Linked DNA regions of Homo sapiens: all the other regions are linked to region 1. Evidence: promoter capture Hi-C in 16 types of primary human blood cells and fetal thymus (Javierre and others, 2016). All regions are on one chromosome and are shown on one strand. Each heading gives the region's core, a stretch centred on a gene start or on the middle of the fragment in contact. The rest is flanking DNA. Distances are from core to core; before and after follow the strand shown.

Evidence for each region. The method cuts DNA at HindIII sites, captures the fragments that hold promoters and counts their contacts. A CHiCAGO score of 5 or more calls a contact.
Region 2: a contact is called between a fragment that was not itself captured here and the fragment with the promoter of CD47 in region 1, in 1 of 17 cell types (M0 macrophages). The highest score is 6.0, in M0 macrophages.
Region 3: a contact is called between a fragment that was not itself captured here and the fragment with the promoter of CD47 in region 1, in 1 of 17 cell types (neutrophils). The highest score is 6.1, in neutrophils.

Annotation. Positions count from the first base shown.
Region 1 is chr3:108,089,549-108,092,684 of GRCh38, reverse strand. CD47 (CD47 molecule) reads left to right here and starts at 1,654. Exons shown (of 11, transcript NM_001777.4): 1 at 1,654-1,822. The coding sequence starts at 1,777. RefSeq lists silencers at 1,041-1,100, 1,111-1,160, 1,181-1,930. The HindIII fragment of the contact is 8,318 bases long and covers 1-2,459 here.
Region 2 is chr3:105,828,379-105,831,514 of GRCh38, reverse strand. The region is part of intron 3 of CBLB (Cbl proto-oncogene B); the gene reads left to right. Among named protein-coding and RNA genes, the nearest start is that of CBLB, 39 kb to the left of the region's middle. RefSeq lists a silencer at 2,512-2,561. The HindIII fragment of the contact is 1,775 bases long and covers 792-2,566 here.
Region 3 is chr3:105,854,031-105,857,166 of GRCh38, reverse strand. All of the region lies in intron 2 of CBLB (Cbl proto-oncogene B), which reads left to right. Among named protein-coding and RNA genes, the nearest start is that of CBLB, 13 kb to the left of the region's middle. The HindIII fragment of the contact is 6,069 bases long and covers 1-3,136 here.

The sequences.
Region 1 (3,136 bases), core at 405-2,904:
AAGCAGCAGTTGGAGGAGAATCGATGAGTCCCTTTGGTTGCCTCGGGGTGTCAAGGCTGCCATTCAAATCATTACCACCATAATTATTAACCATTGTTTTAGTGAGATGTCTGCCAGGCAATTGTTTTTATTTTTCAATCATTAAAAAAGCAATCAAATTTCACTAGAGCAATGCCTGCCTCACGCCGCATCAACACATTTATTAAACCCCTTCTGTTTGCCGAGCTCAATGGAAAGTCTTGGAGGAGGGAATACTTAAAATGCTCTCGGATTTAAAAGAATTGATAATGCTGTGGGGAAGAGGTTCACACAAAAAAGCAATTACAGGAAGAAGCTCGATAGTATACAATACACTGGTACAGAGTGTCATAGACAGTGCCACTTTCATACGCTGGATTTTATTTCTGTGGCAATGGGATGCTTGGGAGGAGCCGCACTGTGTAGAGGATTTGGAGAAGTGGGGTATTGTGGTGGGAAATTGCTTTCTTTCCCAGGAGGTAGGAGGAAAACAATCAAGGAGGTGGACAGGATGTGCACTCCATTAGAGCAGCCACCAGAGCCTGACTTTTTGATAAGAGAGTACATCAGTTAGGATAACGGTTAAAAGTATCTTTAAAAGACTTTTGCTTCAGGATGAATGATGTGGCCTGTGTGATTCAGCGATAAATTCAAAAGCCTTGTCCCTATTGTGGCTTGCGGCCACATTTCGAACCCATTTTTCAAGCATGTTAAACCCAAGCGCAGCGCAGAGGGCTGCACATGGGGCAGTCACAAACCAAGCTCAATAACCTTGCTGGTGGGGATGTGTTGGATACGCTGCTAATGCCTGTTTGCGACAATGCTCGCTAGTCCCGGTGGTGGCGGTGTTCACAGGTAACAATGTTTACCACCGTGAATGGAACTTGTTTGATTAACCCTGATCAGAGGATGAAAACACTAAAGAACCAAGTGAGAAAGAGGGAAGAGAACCGCATAGGGAAGAGCAGAGCGAGTAGACGAGCCGAACGCAGAGCCCGCGAGGGGCGAGTGGAAGCTCCCTGCGGGCAGGTACCCGACCACCGCCCTGCCCTGGGCGTGGCGGCCTCGGGCTCAGGGACCGCTTCGGCGCTAGACGGCCGCGTCCGGAGGAAACGGGCGCTGGTGAAAGCCTAGGTGTCCTGGTCCACGCGCGCAGCCGGACGTCGGGTCCAGGGAGAGACGCGGGCTGGGGCGGGACGGGACCCGGCCCCTGAAGCGCGAGGGTGGGAGTGAAAGCAAAGAGGAGAAAAGTAGAGAGAGAGGACAGTGGGGCCCAGCGCCGCGCGAAAGGCAGGAACCGACCCGCGGACAGGAACGGGTGCAATGAGGTCCCCGGCGAGCGTGGGAACACAGGGTTCAGCCTCCTGCGGCGGGCGAGCACGCGGACCCCAGGGGCGGGCGGGTGCGACAGGACGTGACCTGGAAGCGCGGCGCGTGCCACCGCCCTGGAGCAGGCATCCGGCCTCCGTGGAGCGGGCAGGCGGGCCCCGGGTCTGGAGCCTGCGACTGGGGAGGGCGCCGCGTCAACAGCAGCGGTTGCGGGGCGGGGCCGAGTGCGCGTGCGCGGCTCTCGCGGGCGGGGAGCAGGCGGGGGAGCGGGCGGGAAGCAGTGGGAGCGCGCGTGCGCGCGGCCGTGCAGCCTGGGCAGTGGGTCCTGCCTGTGACGCGCGGCGGCGGTCGGTCCTGCCTGTAACGGCGGCGGCGGCTGCTGCTCCGGACACCTGCGGCGGCGGCGGCGACCCCGCGGCGGGCGCGGAGATGTGGCCCCTGGTAGCGGCGCTGTTGCTGGGCTCGGCGTGCTGCGGTGAGTGGCTCCTCGCTCCCAGCCCTGCGGCTGCTGTCGCTTCGCCCCCGCGGGCGTGTGGGCTGCGCCCCAGCCAGCCCGGCGGCGCCCTGAAGAGGGTGGCCGGGGCGCAGAACACTCGGGCCCTGAGCGCCCGAAGTGCAGACGTGGGAGGGCCCCACGGGGAATCGGGCGCCCCCCTTCTTCCTCCCTTCCTTTCCCTGGTCGTCTTCTTCCCCCTGGGTGAGAGCGGGGCTCATCTCCTCCACCCGGTTCTCCATCTCCAAATGCACACACACAGGAAGACTCCAAACCGCGCACCTCGCGCAAAAATTAACTAGCAAGAAAGGGCGCGATCAGAGGCAAGGGGCTGCAGCTGCTAGGGATCCCCTTCTTTCGCACCCCTCTCCCTTCTCAGTGCTTAGACGCATTTGGGGTTGAGGGAGGGAGAGTGGGAGGGCCCGGGCCTCTTGCGATGGAAGTGCGCATTTTGGCGAAGTCGGTGAGAAGGGGTTTCTGCCGTTTGCCTCCCACATGAACATAGGAGCGAAGAGGACGTAAAGGACACAATTAAGTTTCATTTTCAACTCAGCATTCAATCAGAAGAATCTTCCGGCCGTGTAATTTTTGCTGTCGTTTTTAATCCTAAAAATAAGCTTGCTGGAAACTCTTCCTTTCTCGTGACCCTCACGCCCCATCAGCCACTTGCATACATTCTAAATTGTACGTTGAAGTTTTTCCCACTTTATTTGGGGGAACCGTTTTAAAAGTAATCTGGTTTTCGCCTGAAATAGGAAGACAGTAACCTCCAGTCAAAACATGTGCAGCAGAATGGGATTTGGTGTTTTTCGACGCCAAAGAACCTCCACCCCCCCACCCCCACCCCGAGCTTTTGGAATCCATTTCGCTTTTGTAAAACGTGTGCTTCGTCTGTAAAAACTGAGCAAGGAATAGAAACATTCGTAGCTCTACAGTGAGTGCCTGTCACACTTCACATCCATAGAGCCTTTTGTGAACTTTTATAAGATTCAGAATTCAGCTTGAGCACCAGTGACAGCAATTGTTACATTTATTCTAGAATGCTAAATTAATTCGATTTTAAACTGATTATTAGCCTCGGTGTGCCGTTCCTAAAGGCTTGTGACTTTAGGTATTTCCAAGATGCCCTTAAGTCTCTGCTTACCACTTTCCTCCCTCCCCGAGCATCCTGGATGTTGGGACTGTGAATCCAGGTCTCCGTTATCTAAATGGTTGATGTTAGTGTTTCCTGTCATCACGTTTAGTATGCTTGTTGCCTTTACTATCATTATAGCTAAAATAATACTGCTTTCAGAG
Region 2 (3,136 bases), core at 430-2,929, 2.3 Mb after region 1:
GAACATTGTAGTTGGTGGTGTAGAGACAGTTCTATCTTGATGCTTCAGGTTCTCATTTCTACTTGAGGGAAGCTCACAATTTTCAGGAATCACGGAGGATGGCATTTGAGCCCGCCTGGCGGTCTGAGCCCACCTGGAGATCCCCATCCTTTCAATGGGGAAATGTATTTGAGCTATTCCCCAAGCTAATGCTCAGGTAGGAGATACAGGCAGGAAAAGATGTCATGGAAGATATTTTAAAGGAATGGGAGTATACGCCTAGCTTAGAATACAATATGTGAAAGCATATTGTATTGTGGTTCTTTGGTGCTGGATATCTCAGGAGTGGAGGAATTGAAGGATTGTGTTTTCATTTTTACACTTTTTCTCTTCTGCTCTTCTGATTTTTCAACCATGAACATGGTTATGTGTATGGTCTGGTTTGGGGGAAGTATATATCAGAAAAAATAAAACAAGAAAGGAAGTTACTCTGGTTACCATGCAATTTCGTATTTAAATGACAAGGTTTTGCATTTTGGATATTTCATGTCAGCCGTGTCTCCTCAGCTAAGTTCTAGTCACTTAGAAGTTTGGTGTCACTGAATTATAATTTTGGTGCTTCCCATGTTTTATATTTACACTAGACTACATGCTATATGGACAATGTGCAATCAGTTAATATCTGAATGAATGAATTGACCAACTTTTGAGAACAGAGTTTGACATAAATTTGGTGGTTTTTGGTTCATTGTGCTTTAATTGAAGGAGAAGTAGACATTGTACTTCACATTAGGCTACTCTTTAGATAAGCTTTCCATTACATGGCATGTGTCTTACTTTCTTACTTGATAATGGCTCTGTTTCTGAAATTATATAAACAGATTTTTACTGTTTTTAAACTTTACAACTTAATATTAGACTGTAAATTATTTACTTATTTATTGGAAACAAACTTTTAGATACAGAAATTGGTCTTTTAAGACAACAACAAAAAATACCTAGTTTTTAATCTGGCTCCTGTCTTTCATGACTAAGTCTGACTGATCTTTCTTGTTATATGATGCTTTATAAGATTGATTCTGTATCCGGGTTACCAACGCTTCCTGTAACAGAAGAAAAACATTCAGATCCTTATAGTGCTGAGTCAGGGGAAATTATTACATACAACAAAGGAAAAGTCTTTGATAGGAAATATTGCTTCTGGTAGGAAATTAAGTACAGAGTACAAGGATCTAAATGTCTGTCATATAAACAATGGGCAATCTTATTAGGCAATTTTGGACACCTATTACGTGGCTTTATTTATTTATTAATAGTAGGCTTTTCTCATCATGGTTCATGGGGATTTGTAAGGTAACGATACCCTGGACAGCCTTCCAAGATGTTTTGATGTTGGCAGCAATGCATTACTGGGGCAGGGGCAGGGGAGGAGGTAGAAAGTGTGATAACTCTGCATCACTCCTTCTTCTTTGTTCTCATTTATAACACCTAAGGCATTGGAATTCCCCAGAGTAAGAATTCTAGTGAAAAGGGAAGCAAATAAAATACATCTGACAGTTGGGATCCTTGGGTTTATACATGTGCTGACTAATTACATATGAAATGAGATATCCCCTTAAATTAAAACTATTTGAAGATACCACTTCAAATATATGTAATAGATGATTTACACTTCTTATCATGGCTTTCAATAGCAAGAATTTCTCTTGCAGTAGGATAATTAACTAGAAATATAAAGAAATGTTTCAAAAGTATAATAATGTAGAAGAAAAATAGAAAAATTTGATTTTGGAAGAAATCTTCCTCCATTATTATGAAGATAGCTGCAGTTTGGTTTTTTTTTTTTTTTTTTTTTTTTTTTTTTTTTTTGGGACGGTCTTGCTGTGTCGCTCTGGCTATGGTGTGGTGGCATGAACACAGCTCACTGCAGCCTGTACTTACTAGGTTGAGCCATCCTCCTGCCTCAGTCTCCAAGTAGGCTCCCAAGTAGGTGGGACTACAGGTACATGCCACTATGCCTGGCTGATTTTTAAATTTTTTGTAGAGACAGGGTCTCGCCATGTTGCCTAGGCTGGTCTTGAACTCCTGGGCTCAGGCATTTCTCCTGCCTTGGCCTCCCAAAGCGTCAAGATCACAGGCATGAGTCACCACACCCAGCTGATAGCTGCAGTTTTGTGTGTGAGAGTTGATCTTCTTGCCTTTACTGTGACAAAACATCTTTATGGAAAGACAAACAGTATTCGTTACGTTTATTTTACCTGTGTATTCAAGAATGTTTATTTTTTTCATAAGCTACAAAACCAGATTAGAAAAGTAACTTGTATTTCCTAAAAGGAGGCATATTTTAGGAGCTATATGAACTGGGCATTTTTAATTTTTTTTCATTACTTTGGGGAATATTTCAGGATCTCATCAGCATTCATTACATGGGAGGACAGGGGATTAAAAAAACAAAATTGATTGTTAATGAATTTTTTTTTTTTTGTATTTAGGAAGAAGAAAGACTGTAACTTAAAAAGAATTGTGGCAAATTATATATGTTAAATATTCTGGTCTAGAAATGTGGTATAGAGGTTCCCTAGAAGCTTCTGTTCCACTGTGGTTAAAATGTTTTCTCACCTTCTTGAACTGTCTTTGTAGGTGATGTCATGAAATGTCCCAAGAGAACGTTGTATAAAACTTCCTTTGACCTTTCTGGACTCAGGGCTGAGCTCCTTAGACCTACAGTTTCTTGTTAAAATCGAGTAGGTTGTGTTTGAAAAATAAAGTTTATTTGTAAAATTATTTCAGTTTATATTTTATGTATAATCATCTCTCTTACAAATATATGACTCAAGGAAAGATAGTATTTTGCCCTAGGGTCAAGAGTGAAATTATTTAAACTTATTAGTGCATATTTATTTCTTTTCTATTTTATGCTAAAAAAATGTGTGGAACTAAAATTTGAAAAGATACTTATTTTGTTAGTTTAGAAAATGTTTAGTATTTCATATAATCTTAACTTTCAAGTATTTTGGCGTCTATCTTAATATTTTCTCCTTTAAGAAAAGACAAAAATTAAAAATCTTATTCTAACTTAGTTTAGTCCACTCAGTGAAACAGCATTTAATATTTAATGAAAATTGTTTTGTCGTTTCCTTTGACATCTGTATTAAAG
Region 3 (3,136 bases), core at 451-2,950, 2.2 Mb after region 1:
AAAAAAATACCTGACAGAAATTTTGTATGTATCAGTTAAAAAGTTCTCTAGTAGAGGAAATGAATTTGAAGCTACCTGGTCCCCAAACTAGAAGAAAATAATGTATCAGTCTGTGACATGTTACACCAAGTTTTATGTTGCTGACATTAAACTATGCCTGCTGTAGAATGTTGGTGGCAATATTCTTGGTATTTATGTATACTTGTGATAGTATTTTTGGTTTAAATAATTTAAAAACCATATTCTTTTTCAAGCAGGATTTGTTAAATAATTGGCATATTTGGGACTTAATCTTTAGGGCAGAATGAACTCTGATTATACTAACGTATCACGTATTAAAAAGGGGGTAAAAAAAGCTCTGTCAGCCATTTTCACTATACTTTGTAAAGATTTGCTGTTATTTAGTAAATGAGATGACATCTTACCTTTCCAAGGACTTTCTTGGAGATAAAAATACTATTATTACTTTTTAACTAAGCCTATACCTTTGGATTATTAATTTGAATACTTGATACTTTAGAGTTCAATTGTAAAAATAAAGGAAATAATACAATCAAACTATTTGTGAAAAAAAAATAGCAGTCAACCAATCCATTAATTTGTTGGTTATGTACTCAGCAATTCTGCTTTAAGGCATTGTTTACAAAGAGGAAGAATATAAGATCATGCCCTGGGTTAATGTGAAAAACATCTTAAATTAGAGGCTGATGGTTGGAAATTTGAACCAGATTTTTCTCTCCATCTACTCCCTCTGAAAAAAACCCTGATCCCCAGTGATTTCTTTTTTTTTTCCTTTTCTTTTTTTTTTTTTTTTTTTTGAGATGGAGTCTTGCTTTCTTGTCCAGGCTGAGTGCAGTGATGTGATCTCAGCTCACTGCAACCTCTGCCTCCCGGGTTCAAGTGATTCTCCTGCCTCAGCCTCCTTAGTAGCTGGGATTACAGGCACCTGCCACCACACCCAGCTACTTTTTGTATTTTTAGTAGAGACAGGGTTTCACCATGTTGGCCAGGCTGGTCTCGAACTCCTGACCTCATGATCTGCCTGTCTCGGCCTCCCAAAGTGCTGGGGTTACAGGTGTGAGCCACTGCGCCTGGCCAATTTCTTTAAGAAAGTAAGTGTGATAGTGTGTATAAGAGTACCCTTTAAATTTGTTAGTTCCTTGATTTATTGTGTTCGTTATGCTTGAAGTTATTATAGTTCGATTGTTTATTTGTCCCAGGCACTTTTATGGGTGCCCAGAGGCAGATCCATGTTTTATGTCCCCTGAAACTTATATGATTTGAAAGAATCTTTCTAAATATAAAGAATACGAAAGTACAAACATCAAATTGTTTATGAAAGTGAATTTTTTTTAGAATGAGAAAAATCCACAAAGCACTATAGTTTTTAAAAAGCCGGTATATCTACAAGTGATTAGAGAAATAATCTAGACTAGTTTTTGGCTCTGTACATTTTATACTTTGATTATCTTCCGTTACCGCATATACTTCCAGTTTTGGGTGTCATGAAACACATTCAAATTGCCAGATTTGAATTGGATTTCACTGTTCCCATGGTAGGCTAGTCAGCATTGTGGGCACCTCAGGTATTTCTAAAACCATCTTTTAAAAAAAGTTCTATTACAGATTTAAAAAATATTGTATTTATTTAAGGTGTATAACATGATGCTTTGATATATATACACATAGTGAAATGGTTACTACATCAAATAAATTAACATATCCTTCACCTTCCATAATTACCTTTCTGTGGTAAGACCATTTAAACTCTGTTCTCTTAGCAAATTTTCAGAATACAGTATTATTAGCTATAGGCCTCATGCTGTACATTAGATCTCCAGTATTAATTATCCTACATAACTTCAAATTTGTACTCTTTGACCTTCTTCTCTCCATTTCTTCCCCTCCCCATCCCTGGGGCCCACCCACTGTTCTACTCTCTGTTTCTTTGTTGCTTAACTCCTTCTTTTAAGATTTTGCATGTGAAAATGAGATCATATATTAATAGTATATTCTTTCTTTGCCTGCCTTATTTCAGTTTCATTGGGATTGCTGACAGTAATTAAACCATTTTACAGGAGTGACTGTATGCCTCACATATACCTTCCATTAAACCCAAAGTAAATGTGTCTTCAATTCAAATTTCCATTAGCCAGATTCCAAAAATACCCACAGCCACTCCAGTGCCACCCAACAGGAGGCTTTAGCCAATTATGTTTAAGATATTATACTCTTAGGCCGGGTACGGTGGCGCACACCTGTAATCCCAGCACTTTGGGAGGCCGAGGCGGGTGGATCACAAGGTCAGGAGTTCGAGACCAGCCTGACAAAGATGGTGAAATCCCGTCTCTACTAAAAATATAAAAATTAGCCAGGTGCGGTGGCAGGCACCTGTAATCCCAGCTACTTGGGAGGCTGAGGCAGGAGAATCACTTGAACCCGGGAGGCAGAGGTTGCAGTGAGCTGAGATCGTGTCACTACACTCCAGCCTGGGTGACAGAATGAGACTCCGTCTTAAAAAAACAATAAAATAAAATAAGATATACTCTTGACAATTTGACAAAAAAAAAAAATACAACGAGGGCCTTAGAAGAGAGCCATGTATCTTTATGATCTTTATGTGAACATTTAACCTTTTGTAAGAGTGCTGTCCCATTACACTATATAATGCTACTGTGCAATTCTCAATTATTTCATTTGAAAGTTATTTATGTAAAGAGTTGATTATGCCCTTTCTGGAGGGATAAGAATGTGGTGGACTAACTTACTCTTGGCTAAATCACATGAACATGTAGAAGTGAATACATTAGTTGGATTACTACCTTCTCTGGCCGGCAGAAGGTACTTTCAGTTCTGCAGGCAGCCCCTGAACGCCCCAGTGGTTGGGCAGCACCTGTGATGGGATGACTGAACCGTTATATGCCACATGTTTATAGGCGTGGTAGACAGTATGGGGAGGTGGAAAAGACTGGTTCTGACCTGACACACATTTACTACTTAATAACTCAGTTATTCAAATTGCACCTCTTTGTTTTATTGTCCTCGGGGTTCAGAACAGTACACCAAAACGCTAATTAACAAACTATGAGACAGCAACAGCTGGGAATTCAGTGTAGTAAAATAACATATAAATGTG